Regions from separate parts of the Homo sapiens genome. Here region 2 is linked to region 1. Evidence: promoter capture Hi-C in human tissues and cell types (Jung and others, 2019). All regions are on one chromosome and are shown on one strand. Each heading gives the region's core, a stretch centred on a gene start or on the middle of the fragment in contact. The rest is flanking DNA. Distances are from core to core; before and after follow the strand shown.

The links. The method cuts DNA at HindIII sites, captures the fragments that hold promoters and counts their contacts. A contact is called where the count stands out against the background at its distance.
Region 2: a fragment that was not itself captured here is called in contact with the fragment with the promoter of SYT10 in region 1 in 1 of the 25 tissues and cell types used here (dorsolateral prefrontal cortex).

What each region holds. Positions count from the first base shown.
Region 1 is chr12:33,436,728-33,443,523 of GRCh38, forward strand. It overlaps SYT10 (synaptotagmin 10), which reads right to left and starts at 3,092. Exons shown (of 7, transcript NM_198992.4): 1 at 2,645-3,092. The coding sequence starts at 2,795. RefSeq lists an enhancer at 2,003-2,819. The HindIII fragment of the contact is 9,708 bases long and covers 163-6,796 here.
Region 2 is chr12:34,009,067-34,015,862 of GRCh38, forward strand. No RefSeq gene overlaps it. Among named protein-coding and RNA genes, the nearest start is that of ALG10, 10 kb to the right of the region's middle. The HindIII fragment of the contact is 6,865 bases long and covers 1-6,629 here.

The DNA.
Region 1 (6,796 bases), core at 1,842-4,341:
TACCTGAATTTCTCTCCCACTATCTCTATGTGAAGGAATTAAAAATATACACAATTTTGGAGCTTGTAATTATCACTGTAATGTTAGAACAACCAATACCATCTGGGCAGTGCTGATTAACTTTCAAAGTAAATAAGCACTGTGCCATTCAACATTGTTGATGTCTTCCTACCAAAAATGGCCTTCTCATTAAACGATGAGTAGAAGGATCACTGGAAGTGCTTTATTTAGGAACCTATAATAACAAGCATGAGAGCACAAGTTATAAGAAAATCTACTTTAAAGAACAGTGTGACGCTGGGTGGCTAAGAAATATAATTAAATATTTGGCAAACAATCTTTAAATCCACTTCATAGATATCTATTAACTTTGAGTGTCTATTTGCAGATTAAAGTATTTTACTTCTAACTGTTGCTTGGATTCGCAAATGAAAAACGTATAGCAATCTTGTCTTTATATGTCATACACAACTTAGTAGAATATCTTTCCTAGTAATAGCCAATAAATATGTGTGTTCCTATATTATAAATCGAATACCCCACTTGTATATATTATGTAGTCTATTTTGCCTCTTAAGGGGAGGAAAATATTCTTGCAATTGTTTTAGACTAATTTTTCTCACTTTTTATTCCCAAGGGGAAAAGTTCAAAAGGAATTCAGACTACAACTACTTCTTGCAGTGATTAGGAAAAACTGAGAACTATTTCTATAATTCATATACTATAGTTTATCTGAAGCTGATACAGTTGTGCATTTTGGACAGATTTCAGAGCTGGGATTTGGTTTCTAACTTCCACATATTTTCCTCATTACCAGCCAGTCTGAGACCCGGGAAACCACTATTTGGTGTGTGATCACAAAAGGGCAGGAAAGAGGAAAATCAGTAGTTTTATTTACAGCATCAACTGTTCAATTACCAAAGCACAATCTTCAAACTTAAATACTCTCATTTCGTCCAGTGTAGCCCCTTCTCTGAGTGTTACCTTTAGCAAGTGGGTCACTAAAGACGTTTCAGAAAAGCTTATCTAATATCACCACAGAGGACTCTGAGGTCACACTATTCTGGTCTTTACCTCATACTTAGCAACGATACGCACGACACAGAATACAACATGCTCACACAGTGCCTTCCACTGAGTTTCATACACTCCTAGGAATTTAACACCTACTGAACGAATGGAAATGATTCTCAGTTGTGTTTATACACTGAGAAAATTTTAAAGTTTCCCTATCCAGGGTCCAAGCAGCGGCATATCTTCAAGCTCTGCCAAGTGCAGACAGAGCCCCCTTGGCTCACGTTGCCGTGGATCAGAGAATACCAAACCCTGCAGCTACCCATGTGAACGATGGAATGTAAAAGCTAAACTAAACCCATTCCCACTCCCCGCTTGGCTTTGACGCAGGGGTGGTGGTGGAGAGGATTCACTAAGTGTGCCCCGCTTTGCTCCCTCCCAGCACGCAGGGCTCCATGTTGTCCTGAGCTTGGCTGTCCAGCTCTTGTTGCCCTGACTACCTTCAACTCTTAAAATCCCGCCAGGAGATCAAAATGACAGGAAAAGCAAAGGGAAAGAACCTAGAGAAGGAATGGCAACCTTCCAGTCGAAAATCCCCAAAGCAGTGTTTTTTGACTCCTAGTGCAACAAGTGACCCTCTCAAGCGGCTCTTGAAACCACGCAGCCCGCAACTCGGGGATCCACCTCGCGTGCGCCCGAGGAGCACAGCAGGCTGGACACACCAACCTTTTCCCCAACCGTGACCCAAACAGTGGCTTGGATTCGATCCTTTCCACCCCCAAGCCTTGAGGAAAATCCACTTGAGACTTTTTTCCATCTCCAGATTTCCGACGGTCGATATCCTCCTGCATCCAGCCCATTTCCTAGTTTCCTGAAGGGTAGGGAGGACGTCTGTGAGTTGGATGTCTGAGAGCGTGCGTGTGCTAGGGATTTTAAACGTCTCCCCTCTCTTCCACTTCTTCGATATGTGCTCTGAGCTTTAGGTGTCGCCTCACAAATGGGATCAATAATCCTTGTTTTACCAACTTTGTCATGAAACCCTAGAAAATCATATATATTAAAAGGGCTTTAGAAATTGTCAGGTGCCCGACAGGTTGCAGCCGCGGGTTACCTCGGAGGCCAAGGCAGCCACCTCTGCAAGGGAGTTCTGCGTCCAAGCATGGCTTGTCCGTCCCGCCTGGCCCCCATCAACAAGGCCGGGACCAGCGGCCGGTGGAACGAGCGAGAGCAGCCCTAGTCCCACAGGTGAGCCGCCCCCACAAGCAGCCAAGCCGCGAGCCGTCCCGGCGCCGTCACCGCCCGCACTCACTTCTCCACTCCGGGAGGGAGATGGGAGGCGTGGGAGAACGCGGAGAGGCGCGGCGAGGCTGGGAGCGGGAGACGGCGCCGGGAGGCGGGAAGCGGACCAGAGAATGGGAGAAGCCCGGCAGGTGGACAGGAGGAAACAAAACCCAAACGCCCCACCCTCGAAGTCGTCAGGAGCTGAGCGAAGGAAGGAGCGAGGTAGGAAAGCGTGGCGCCCCAAATATGCCGCGGGAGCGGCGCGGGAGGCGCAGAACCCCGGAGCTTGCAGCCTAGCGCGCGGGGTCCCAGCGGAGCGCGAGGACGCGAGCGGAGCCCTCCCGGTTACCTGTGCTGCTTCCGCCCTGGCTGCCCCTGTCCCGAGGGAAGATGCCCGAGCACTTCTCCCACTCCACCTGGCCGGCGAAGCACAGCTCGGTGACGATGTGCAGAGCCTTCTGGCACAGACTGTTCACTCCGTCCTCCTTGTGGAAACTCATCGTTTGGCTTTTCTTTCGTTTTCTCTTTTTTTCCCAGTTAGCCGTCTTTTCCTCTTCCCGTACCTCTAACCCCTCTGGCGCCCTAAGCCATAGTCCGCCCGCGGTGACTTTGGCTGGAGATTGCGCCGCTGAGAGCCGGCAACTCTTAGGAGCCCCACGTTGGCCCCATGGCGGGAGCGGAGGGCGTAGGGGAAGGAGAGGCGCGCGAGGAGGCTGCGGCTGCCGCGAGGTTTGCGCCAACTCTCCCGCCGCGCGAGCGAGCCGAGGCGCGCTGGAACTAGAGACCCGGCATGGAGTGCTGAGGGGAGGGGGGAGCCGTAAAAAAGCCAAAGCAAGCCCTCGACTCGCAAGCACGCCCCCCTCCTCTCCCCAGCGCACTGGTGTTTCTGGCGGGTGCCTGGCGGCGACGCGTCCAATCGCAGCCCGGCGCGGGCGCTAGGTGACAGGCGGCGGAGCGCGCAGACCCGGCTCCCCGCGTCCTCTGAAGAAGGGACTCGCGAGGGAGGGAGGGAGGGAGGGCGGGCGGCCCGGCGCCCCTGCCGAGGCCGGGGATGCTCATCGTTGCCCAGAGTTGGCCCGAGGAGCCCTCTCCGTTTTCCCAATACTTTTCCCTGCATCAGTGCAGCCATCCCCGCCGCCTTTGTCTCTCCAACTTTTCCACGGATGTATTCTACTTTCTGTGCTATCTGCTTCTGCCCTTCTGGAAAAGTCATCCCAATCGAAGAAAAACTGAAAAAGTTAATTAGAAAAAAGAATGCGTGAATAAGCAAACCCTCTTAGGTAGATCACAAAATAAAATGTTATTTGTACTAATAATCAGATAAGATTCTGTCGATTAATCCGTAATTGGCGATTGAGAATGCACAACTTGACTCCCTCCATCTCCTTTCTTAGCGACTTAAAACAAGACATGGGTGTTAAAGGGAACAGGATTAAGTTCAAATCTGTCACACATCTCAGCCTAACCTTGAAGTTGTTTTCAGGTCTTGGCGATCCTCCTACTTCAGCCTCCCTAGTAGCTAGGACTCCAGGGACTCCAGGCGCTATTTTTTTTTTTTAAACTTATTGTAAAGACAAGGATCTCACTATGGTGCCCTGGCTGGTCTCGAACTCCTGGGCTCAATCAATCCTACCGCCTTAGCTTCCCAAAATGCTGGCACTAGCCACCACGGCCGGCCTGCTTTCGGGTCTTTGCCTGAGTCTGTAAAATGGGAGATTTGGACTCGGATGTCTTAAGCTCACCTGTTTTTATAATTCTTTAATGCAAATGGGTGCAAATCAGTAGAACTAAAGCGACAAAATAATAAACATGGGCTTCAGGATATAATATGTTTATATGGTTTTTAAACTGTTTTCGGGCAGAGTTTGATCCCATATCATAACCTGAGGATTGATTTAACCCTCTTGTGATGAGGGATTCTTTATTTTTGAAGTGGGATACATTGAACTTGTTAGCGTGTCTATGCTAGTAGAATAAGTAGTCTTTTTTAAAAACAGCTAATCAGTTCATGGTAAATTATTTGCTTTGCACAGGACTATGGTAAACCTAGTATAAATATTAGGCATAGCACTCCAGTAGGGAAGCATTCATTAGTTGAATCATTTTGACCTGATCCATAGGACGATTGGTTTAACTAGGACTATTTTTACCACGAATTAAGACAAACTAAAATCTGCAGGCTTCATTTGGTTTTTGTCTTTATGCACACTGACTTGGGTGGTTTTTAAGTCAAATTGTCTAAAGAAATAATTTCACTGTCAATCAAAAAATATTAAACATCTACTGTATGCACAAAACTAAATAACACACTTTAATAAGGCCCTTTCCAATTGCCTTTTGCCCCCCATTCTGCTACAGTCTACACAGACAGACCGGTAGAAAACAGCCTGCAATGCAATGCTGTACTTTCATATTTACCATATGAACTAATTGCTGTGTAGGAGGACCAAATGAGTAATTATCTTTATACTACTTACAGATTCTAATTGCTTAAGTGGAGTAATGCAGAAGGTCTCCCTAATGACCCTCTTGTGTTTGATTTCAGTGTTAAACATTAGGTAAACAAATTCTGAAAATAACTTTCCTGGTATTTGTTTATGCTGTTCCTGGCCTGTTGCTACTCTTACTGCTGTGTTTTCACAACAAGCAGAGTTAATTTCACTTGGATATTCGTTTTTCTGAATTCATTTCTCTGAAAAAAATTTTCTTTCATCTAAAATGAATATCACAGGTTTTGATTTTTTTCTTTGTTCTTTGGACCATCTCGCAGCTCATTAGCAGGTGAATCAAAACAGTTTTGTTTGTCACTAACTAAAAGCTCAGGTAAGAATTTTGGGCAAAGTAAAAACTGCATTGAAGGTCATCTTTTTCAATGCTGAAGGATAAGATGACAAGAATTTCAATTTTCAGTCTTTAAATTTTTTTTCCAACTATTTCAGCTACCAAGAACCTAAAAAGTAAATCAAGCAATACAGATTTGCATTTACTTCCCCACTCACACTCTGAAGGAATTGGTGAAATAGTAAAAGGAGAGGAGTGCAGGTTAGACTGATATTTACTGAGCATTGTTGGCTGTGCTGAGTACTATAGTAGCCATTGTTAGTCAAAAAAATACTAGCTGTAATGATCTCTGTCACAGCTTCCTTCTGGATGACCTCTACGTTATGTAGAGGAGGGATTGGTTTGGAAATAAGGAGCCCAGGAAAAACCCGTGTGAACTAAGCATACCTGTTAAGTGACAATTTTAAACATTCAAAACTCTGATTTCCCTACTTGCTCAATCCTCTTTCAATTCCTTCTTGCCCTTTCTCGTTCATATCGTGGGGGAGGGAGAGTTAGCTTGTTAGGCAGAGATCTCTCTACGGTAAGGGGAACTTGGGAATCACTCTAACACTATAATTTTAAATATTATTTGACCTCCAAAACAGGAACTAAGAGAGTAGGTAAATGAAGAAATCTCAGAGCAGCTGAATGAAGATCACAGAAAATTATTAAATTTGAACTTACTTCAAGTGTTACTACTTTCCTTTTCTGTATTCTATTGGCAGCTCAGATTCATAACAGACCAGTTGTAACTTTCTGTATACACTTGGGGCTGGTCCCGTATTCCTCAATTCAGAAAATGGAATTGCCACTCACTGCCAACTGGTGATCATGATGACCAAACTTCTGGCTTGCACAGAAGAAATGAGAAGTCCAGTTCTGACTCCAGATCCTTTTCTTTTCTTTTCTTTTCTTTTCTTTTTTTTTTTTTTTTTTTTTTTTTGAGACGGAGTTTCGCTCTTGTTGCCTAGGCTGGAGTACAATGGTGCGATCTCGGCTCACTGCAACCTCTGCTTCCCCGGTTCAAGCCATTCTTCTGCCTCAGCCTCCAGAGTAGTTGGGATTACAGGCGCCCGCCACCATGCCCGTCTAATTTTTTTGTATTTTCAGTAGAGGTGGGGTTTCACCATGTTGGCCAGGCTGGTCCTAAACTCCTGACCTCAGGTGATCAGGCCACCTCGGCCTCCCAAAGTGCTAGGATTACAGGCATGAGCCACTGTCCCCGACCCTCCAGATCCTTTTAATACAACCCAATTCATCACTCTGGAAGATTTGGTGTCTTCTCTTTTTCCATTATGTTCAATTTGTTCATTTTTCCTGATGGATACCCAGTGAGCATTTCAATCTGAGACTCAATGTTGAGTTCTTCAATTCCAAGAATTCTATTGATTTATTCCTTCAGTAATGTTCTAACTTCCATTTTTTTTCTGTGCAGTCCCTTACTAGAACTACTTTTTTGTTGGATTTTTGACTGCTAGGACTGAATCGCCAATTTTCACTTCTCTTCTATTTTCCAATTTTGTCACCTTACTCCTTGTGCTTTAATTTTGGGGAGATTTCCTTTGACCTTGTTCTCTGAGCTTTCTATTAAACTACTATGATTTCATCTTTTATAGTTCTAAGATCTGTATACTTTTTGGCTTAGTGATTCTTTTTTCTTATTTCATGAATGAAAATC
Region 2 (6,796 bases), core at 1,947-4,446, 570 kb after region 1:
TGAATAATGCCAACACAGTGACTACATCTTATTTGCTAGACTAATATTTCTCAAATTTCAGTGACTAATGACCCTTTTCAAGAAAAAAAGTTCTCTTCAGCATTGATAAAATATTTAAATTATTTTTTATTTAAATAAGTACAGCATAAAACTGAGTTAGCTTTTGTTTATAATTCTTAAACAAATATATGAAGCAAATTTACAAGGCAAATTAATAGACTTAAGCAATGCTTGTAACCTAAATTGCATACTTGCTACTATGCCATTGGACTTTTCCAGTTAGACATTCTTATTTACTATATGTGTGTGTGTGTGTGTGTGTGTGTGTGTGTGTGTGTGTGTTTTGAGATGAGATGAGGTCTTACTCTGTCACCCAGGCTGGACTGCAGTGGTGTGATCTCGGCTCACTGCAACCTCCACCTCCTGGGCTCAAGCCTTCCTCACATCAGCCTCCCAAGTAGCTAGGTGCACCACCATGTCCGGGTAATTTTTTGTATTTTTGGTAAATATGGGGTTTTGCCATGTTGTCCAGGCTGGTCTCAAAATCCTGAGCTCAAGCGAGCTGCCCACCTCGGCCTCCCAGAGTGCTGGATTTACAGATGTGAGCCACTGTACCAGGCCAGTGTCCATATTTGCTATAGTTTTATGATACCCAAAAGCTCTCACCATCTTTCACTATTCAAATTATGCATTGGGAAACATTTATCAGTAGGATGGTCAGCCATGTTATCATTGGGCCTCCAAACATCGCAAGCCTGGGTATAAACATAAAATCAAACACAAGTGCCTAGTTCGCATTGCAGTATCAACTCTAAGAACATCTAGCACTGCATTTTCTAGTACAATAACCACTAATCATTAAAGAGAAGTTAATATAAAAAATTAATATTTAAGTTAATATTTAATTAAATTACCAGCCTGGCCAATATGGTGAAACCCCTCTCTACTAAAAATACAAAAATTAGCCAGGCATGGTGGCACAGGCCTGTAGACCCAGCTACTCGAGAAGCAGAGAAAAAGAATTGCTTGAACCCAGAAGGCAGAAGTTGCAGTGAGCCGAGATGGAGCCATTGCACTCCAGCCTGGGCAACAGAGAGAGACTCTGTCTCAAAAAAATTAATTAATTAATTAGTTAATTAAAGTCTCTGTTCAACTACCCTAGTTGCATGTGGCTGTGATGATCATATTAGACAGCATAAAATACATTTTAATTATCGTGGAAAGTTGTGTTTTAAAATTTTTATAGAGAATTATGTACCTTTAGACAACATCTAAAAATACTGCTGCTTAGGAAACACTGTAGTAGATGGTTGTCCATGAGAAAAGGAGTTATTCCTATTGTATTAACTGCTTTTTTCCCTAGTGCTTAGTGCTTAATAAACACTTGTTGAAAGATTGAAATTCCAGTTTAAAAGGCAAACTGTGTATATAAATTATGTTTTCAAACTAAGAAGTTCTGTGATGGAATAAATGTACTAGGGACAGAGATAAAATGTGTAGATCTTTTGTTTATCAAAAGACACATGAACCTATTTAAAATAAATGCTTTTCACATAGCTAATTATTCTACCATGTTTATCATAAATAAACAAATCAAATTTTAATTATTGTTGTTCTATGAATAATGACCATCAATTATTAGGTTAAAATATTTTGATTTATTATTCATGCTAAATGAACACTGTCAAAATAACAGATTTTATGGAAACTAAGACAACATCAAAGGTACAATATACATGTTGTTATTGGTACTAATTAATGTCTTTACATATCTACTAACTTCACTGTAGAGAATAAATATGTTTCTGCAAATTTATATACAAATTCTAATTTTAACAATCAAATCTTTCTTTTATTAAACTAGGGCATTTGCTGTGGAAAGGAGCCCTTACTCTTTTTGGTGTTGTAGTTCTTGTTTTGTTTTCAAACAATGAAAACATTATGTAATTTGAAAAATTATCCCCATGCTGTTTGCTTTGTAAATCCATGTTTGTTTATTAAAGCTTTTACTCTTGAGACTATATTGATAAAAATCTAAATATTTTATCTTCATCTTATATAAGCTTCACATGTTGGTATTAAAAAATCCTCTTGTAATAAACACAACTCTAAGAGATTAATGATTTACATGCTAGAGAAATGAAATAAGCTTATCAGTGATGAAAGAGATGTATGTATCCTACTTTCTGGAAAATAACATATTTCATTACTTGGCTGTTTGATTTACAAAAATTATAGATTGTATTGGAAGTCCCATGAATGTGCCTGGTAAAATATAATGGAATACTTATATTTCTCTTGAGAATACTCTAATATAATGTATTTGTATTTCTCTGAATTTGAAGGGAACAGCCTAAAACTGTATGCTATCAAAATGCAAATATAACATAATTTTGCCAGGAACCTACTCTCTTCATCAGGAAATATAGACCACAATAATTAAATTCATGCTGGAAAACAATGCTTTCCATTAGCACAGTTTTATTTTCAAAACCAGAATAAAGTGTGGATTTAGAAGTAGTCTCAGTCCTCATCTTTGGAAAGATTCAGTTTTTCTAATTCAGGCTACAAGTACTTGTAAAAGATCGTATAAAAATATTTCACCTAACCACATTCATTTTGGCTACCTAGCTAAATGTGAATTACTTTGAAAGAGGGGATTAACGGGCATGACTGTGGACCATAAAATATGCAATAGATAAATATTCTTGAAAAACAGTGACTCTTAAAGAGTTAGTATGTTTTTCACTCATCTTGGAACCTGCAGTAATATTGATGTCCTTGAACAAAGTGATATATTTAGAACAGATGACTGACTGCTATGGGGATTTAAATAAACTATGATTTTAAAATTGTCTATTTCTCTATTTTTAAATTTTCTTCTGAAAATAAATTTCAATGCACTTCTTCAAATCTTTCACATTTTCATACCTCTTTACTTTTTCTTGTGCTGATATCTCTAAATGGAATGCTCCCTCATCCTACCCACATCTCCTTTTTTCTGACATCTAACTAAATTATATTATTTTAAATTTTCAACCTGAGCATCTTTGTGAAGCTTTCTCTAATACTAGGGATAAAGCATCTGGTTTATGAGTATTTTTTCAGGTATATCAACTTTCTCAGAAATTTGTCAGACAAATTTTTAAATTTTAAATGTTTAAATCTTCTATAGTTAATATATGAATCACCTATTTTATTGAATGACTATGTGTCAATAACAAAGATTCACATGGAGTTTTTTTCTTTAATGAAATGCTATAAATTGACTTCCTATAGCAATAAAGTGAACAAAGTTTGGTCTCTCTTTTATATTTGTAGTAATTTATTAGTAAGTCAATATTGCAATGTATCAGAATATTCTTCACCAGCAGGTCAATATAAAATTCAGGAGATCATATAAAGGACCAAAATGTAGTCACAGAGTCTTCTTACATTAATAGTAATTGGTACAGTTTGGACTGACAAGTTCTTAGACCTTGGAACAATTGTAGAATCCAGAAAAATTTTCTAAGACACAAATAAAAGATGTGCTACAGTTTACTATTCTTCCAAAATTCCATGTGTCAAATAATTGAAATAGTACCTGCCTGCAATATTGAAAAAGATAAATGGTAGCAGTTCCAAGGAGACTGATTTTATAACAACTTTAACTCTTCTGGATATAAACTTCTGTATTAATTCAAATACATGGTGAATTGAAGTTGCTAAAAGAGAAAAACAGGTATTAATACCTATGCTATTAATGCTGTCATTTTCACGAGTCTGTTTCAGATTTATCCTTACACATTAATAATACTGATATCCCAAAGCAGAGATTTAATTAAATTTTCCAAATAAGGCAATACATTTGTAAGCATACTTAGAACCATGATAAATAAAGCTAAAATGTATTCTTTAAATAAATGAACCAAGTAAATTTGTGTTGCTGTGACTTTGATTTAATAACATGGAATTTTTACATTACTCACTTGCTAATCAAAGAAATGTTATAATCTTTGATGAAGTATCCCTAGGTTCTGATTTATTTCTTTATTTTAATAAGTCAGGATATATTTTTTATGAAATGTTATTTTAAATGGCATTATGATCAACAGATTTTTATTAAATATTTACTAGGAGCATGCCAAACAAAAGACTCATTACTCAAGCTCCACCAAACTGTTTTCTAGACTAAATTAATTACAGATTCTTAGGCAAACGACAATGCACAGAGTTGTGCTAATGGCTTCACGATGTTCCTAGTTTCCTAAGACCCAATCTATTCCCATCTCCTCAAGTAGCCCTCAATGATTTTAACTACTTTTCTTCTTCCCAAACTTAGGTGACATTATATCCTAGGATAGCTTTCAGTTCTTTTATTTATTCAAGTGTCATCAATGAGTAATGAATAATTCAGTAGTTATTAAGGACTACTGAATGTTTGATACTGTGTTAAGCACCGAGTATGTTACTTGCAATCAAGTGTCTACGTGGCAAATAATGTTAGCAACGTAATAAATGCACTATATTAAGTGGCATTACAGTAGCAACAACATCAAACATATATTTCTCATTGATAGCATTTTAGGCACCTGTGGGTTGACTGCTATGACTCTGTGAATTTCCATCTCAGAACAAAGGCTAAAGATACAGTCCCTATTTAGTACCTGACATTCTTATGGCAGAGGAAAAAGTGCAGGAGTTAATTGTTTAGTGGCTTTTAACATTTCTGCTTGAATGTAATACACAGTTGATTTCTACTGTTTGAGGTAGTAATGTTCGTAAAGAATATTATTTATTGCGTATTAAAATATATTATTTGAAATATATTAATATAATTAATTATATATTATTAATTATATAGTGAAAGATAATTAATAGTGGTGTTATGAATAATCAAGTTAAAAAATGAATAGCCTTCCACAGAAATTCTTATATTTACAGCCTTTTGCCTAGGTCGGTGGCATTGAACATAAGGTGATTACAAAGTGCGTAAGCATTTGACCCAAATGCATTTGTGATAATTACTTATTTTTCATTAATGAAAGCATGTAATTTTTCAGTAAAGCTGTTATATTTTATGTTACATTGAGAAATAAGAGGTTTATGAATAGGTAAGTTGAATAAAAATATTTTGATCAGCCATTTAACACATTAATTAATTTGATTCAACTTTTGTATCTGGCTAGTTAGGATTTAAAGAAAAATTATCTGCAACACTTTCACTTATACCCATGAGGGATTATGCATAGAACTGTACACTTAAAATGTGTGAATTTTACTGTGCATAAATTTTATCTCAATAAAAATAATTTTCAAAAGAAGAACCTGTATCTGTATAGACATTTTAAGTTGTAGTAAATAACATACGTTTTATGAAACAAGTTTTTGATTGCCAGTGTTACTGCTGTTTAAGTTAAGGAAATAGTTGGGAATGGTATAACAGGATTCATGGCAGTAGAAAGCCAAAAGTATTGATTTAATTTCTCTCAACTTCAAAAAAAAAAAAAAAAAAAGAGAGACAGAGAGAAATAAAAAAGTCTTGGTTCAAGATCTGATTACAAGGTTTGCCACTTATAGTGTAAGACTATCATCACATCTGCTTAGAAATGAGACATACATAAAAGTGTTGGCCAGGATACCAGAGAGCAGAGAGAAGGAATTCCAACCTGCAAACTGATTTATTTGCTGCTTCTGCCTCATTATAACTAATACATGTCCATTTTTCTGAGGAATTTGGCTAAGATTTCCTTTCACTGCAATGAGCTATCTGATAATGTGTTTGCAGAGGTGGAAAAGTAGAGTGCTCTACCAATGAAGAATACCCATAATCATGAAAAAAAATTAAAGTTCTGGCACATAACAAAAAGCCAAATTAGTTTATGCTTGCTTGATAAATAACCCTCTTGACACTCAGAGAGCACTGAATTCTCAAACATAAAAGAAAGGGCTAAGTTTAGGTTGAGTTGTTGAGCATTCTACTAAATGATGTTGGCCAAACAAAAACACTATGCTAAATATTTATTATATTAAATTTTTAAGTTACCAAGTCAAAAATATCACCTTACACATCTTCTGGACATAGTGCAAAGTTGTTTATTTTATTTCATTTTTTAAGTTAAGTTTTCATTTGTTATAAGGTAATAGAACATTTCTCAAACTACACAGGGTAAATAACTAGTTTTATTCTAAATTTCCAACCTATCATGGATTAATAATTCTATGAAATATAACAAAAATGAATTGTTAGAAAAGTGAAAGAAAAAACAGACATATAAAATATGTTCATTTTTAGTATTAATTCTATAAAAATAAAATTACCCTGCCATACTGCTATAAAAATTTCTAAAAGCTTATTCTTAATTTCTGTACTTATATGTTCAAAAATAGTAATACAGGGATCTGAACAGGCACCAGTCCACAAAACACACTTTTAAATGAACATCTGTGTTTCTTCCAAAGGTAAAATAAGTGCAATAAGCTTATAATTGTTCTAAATAAGGGTCACTATATTTGCCAAACTTCAATTTGTTTTCCCAAGATTTAACTATTTTCAATAGTTTGACAGTTACCTTGGTAAATTGAAATAACAAGCCTATGTTGCCATTTCTTGACTTTTTCTTATTTTTATTTATTATTATTTTAACTTTTATTTTAGGTTTGAGAGTACATGTGAAGGTTTTTTACATAGGAAATCACATGTCATGGGGATTGGTTGTGACAGGGACTTCTTGATGAAAAACTGGACAATTGACTTGAATTAAAGTTTTATAAATGAGAATATTCAAATGACCAATAAACATATGAAAAAAGC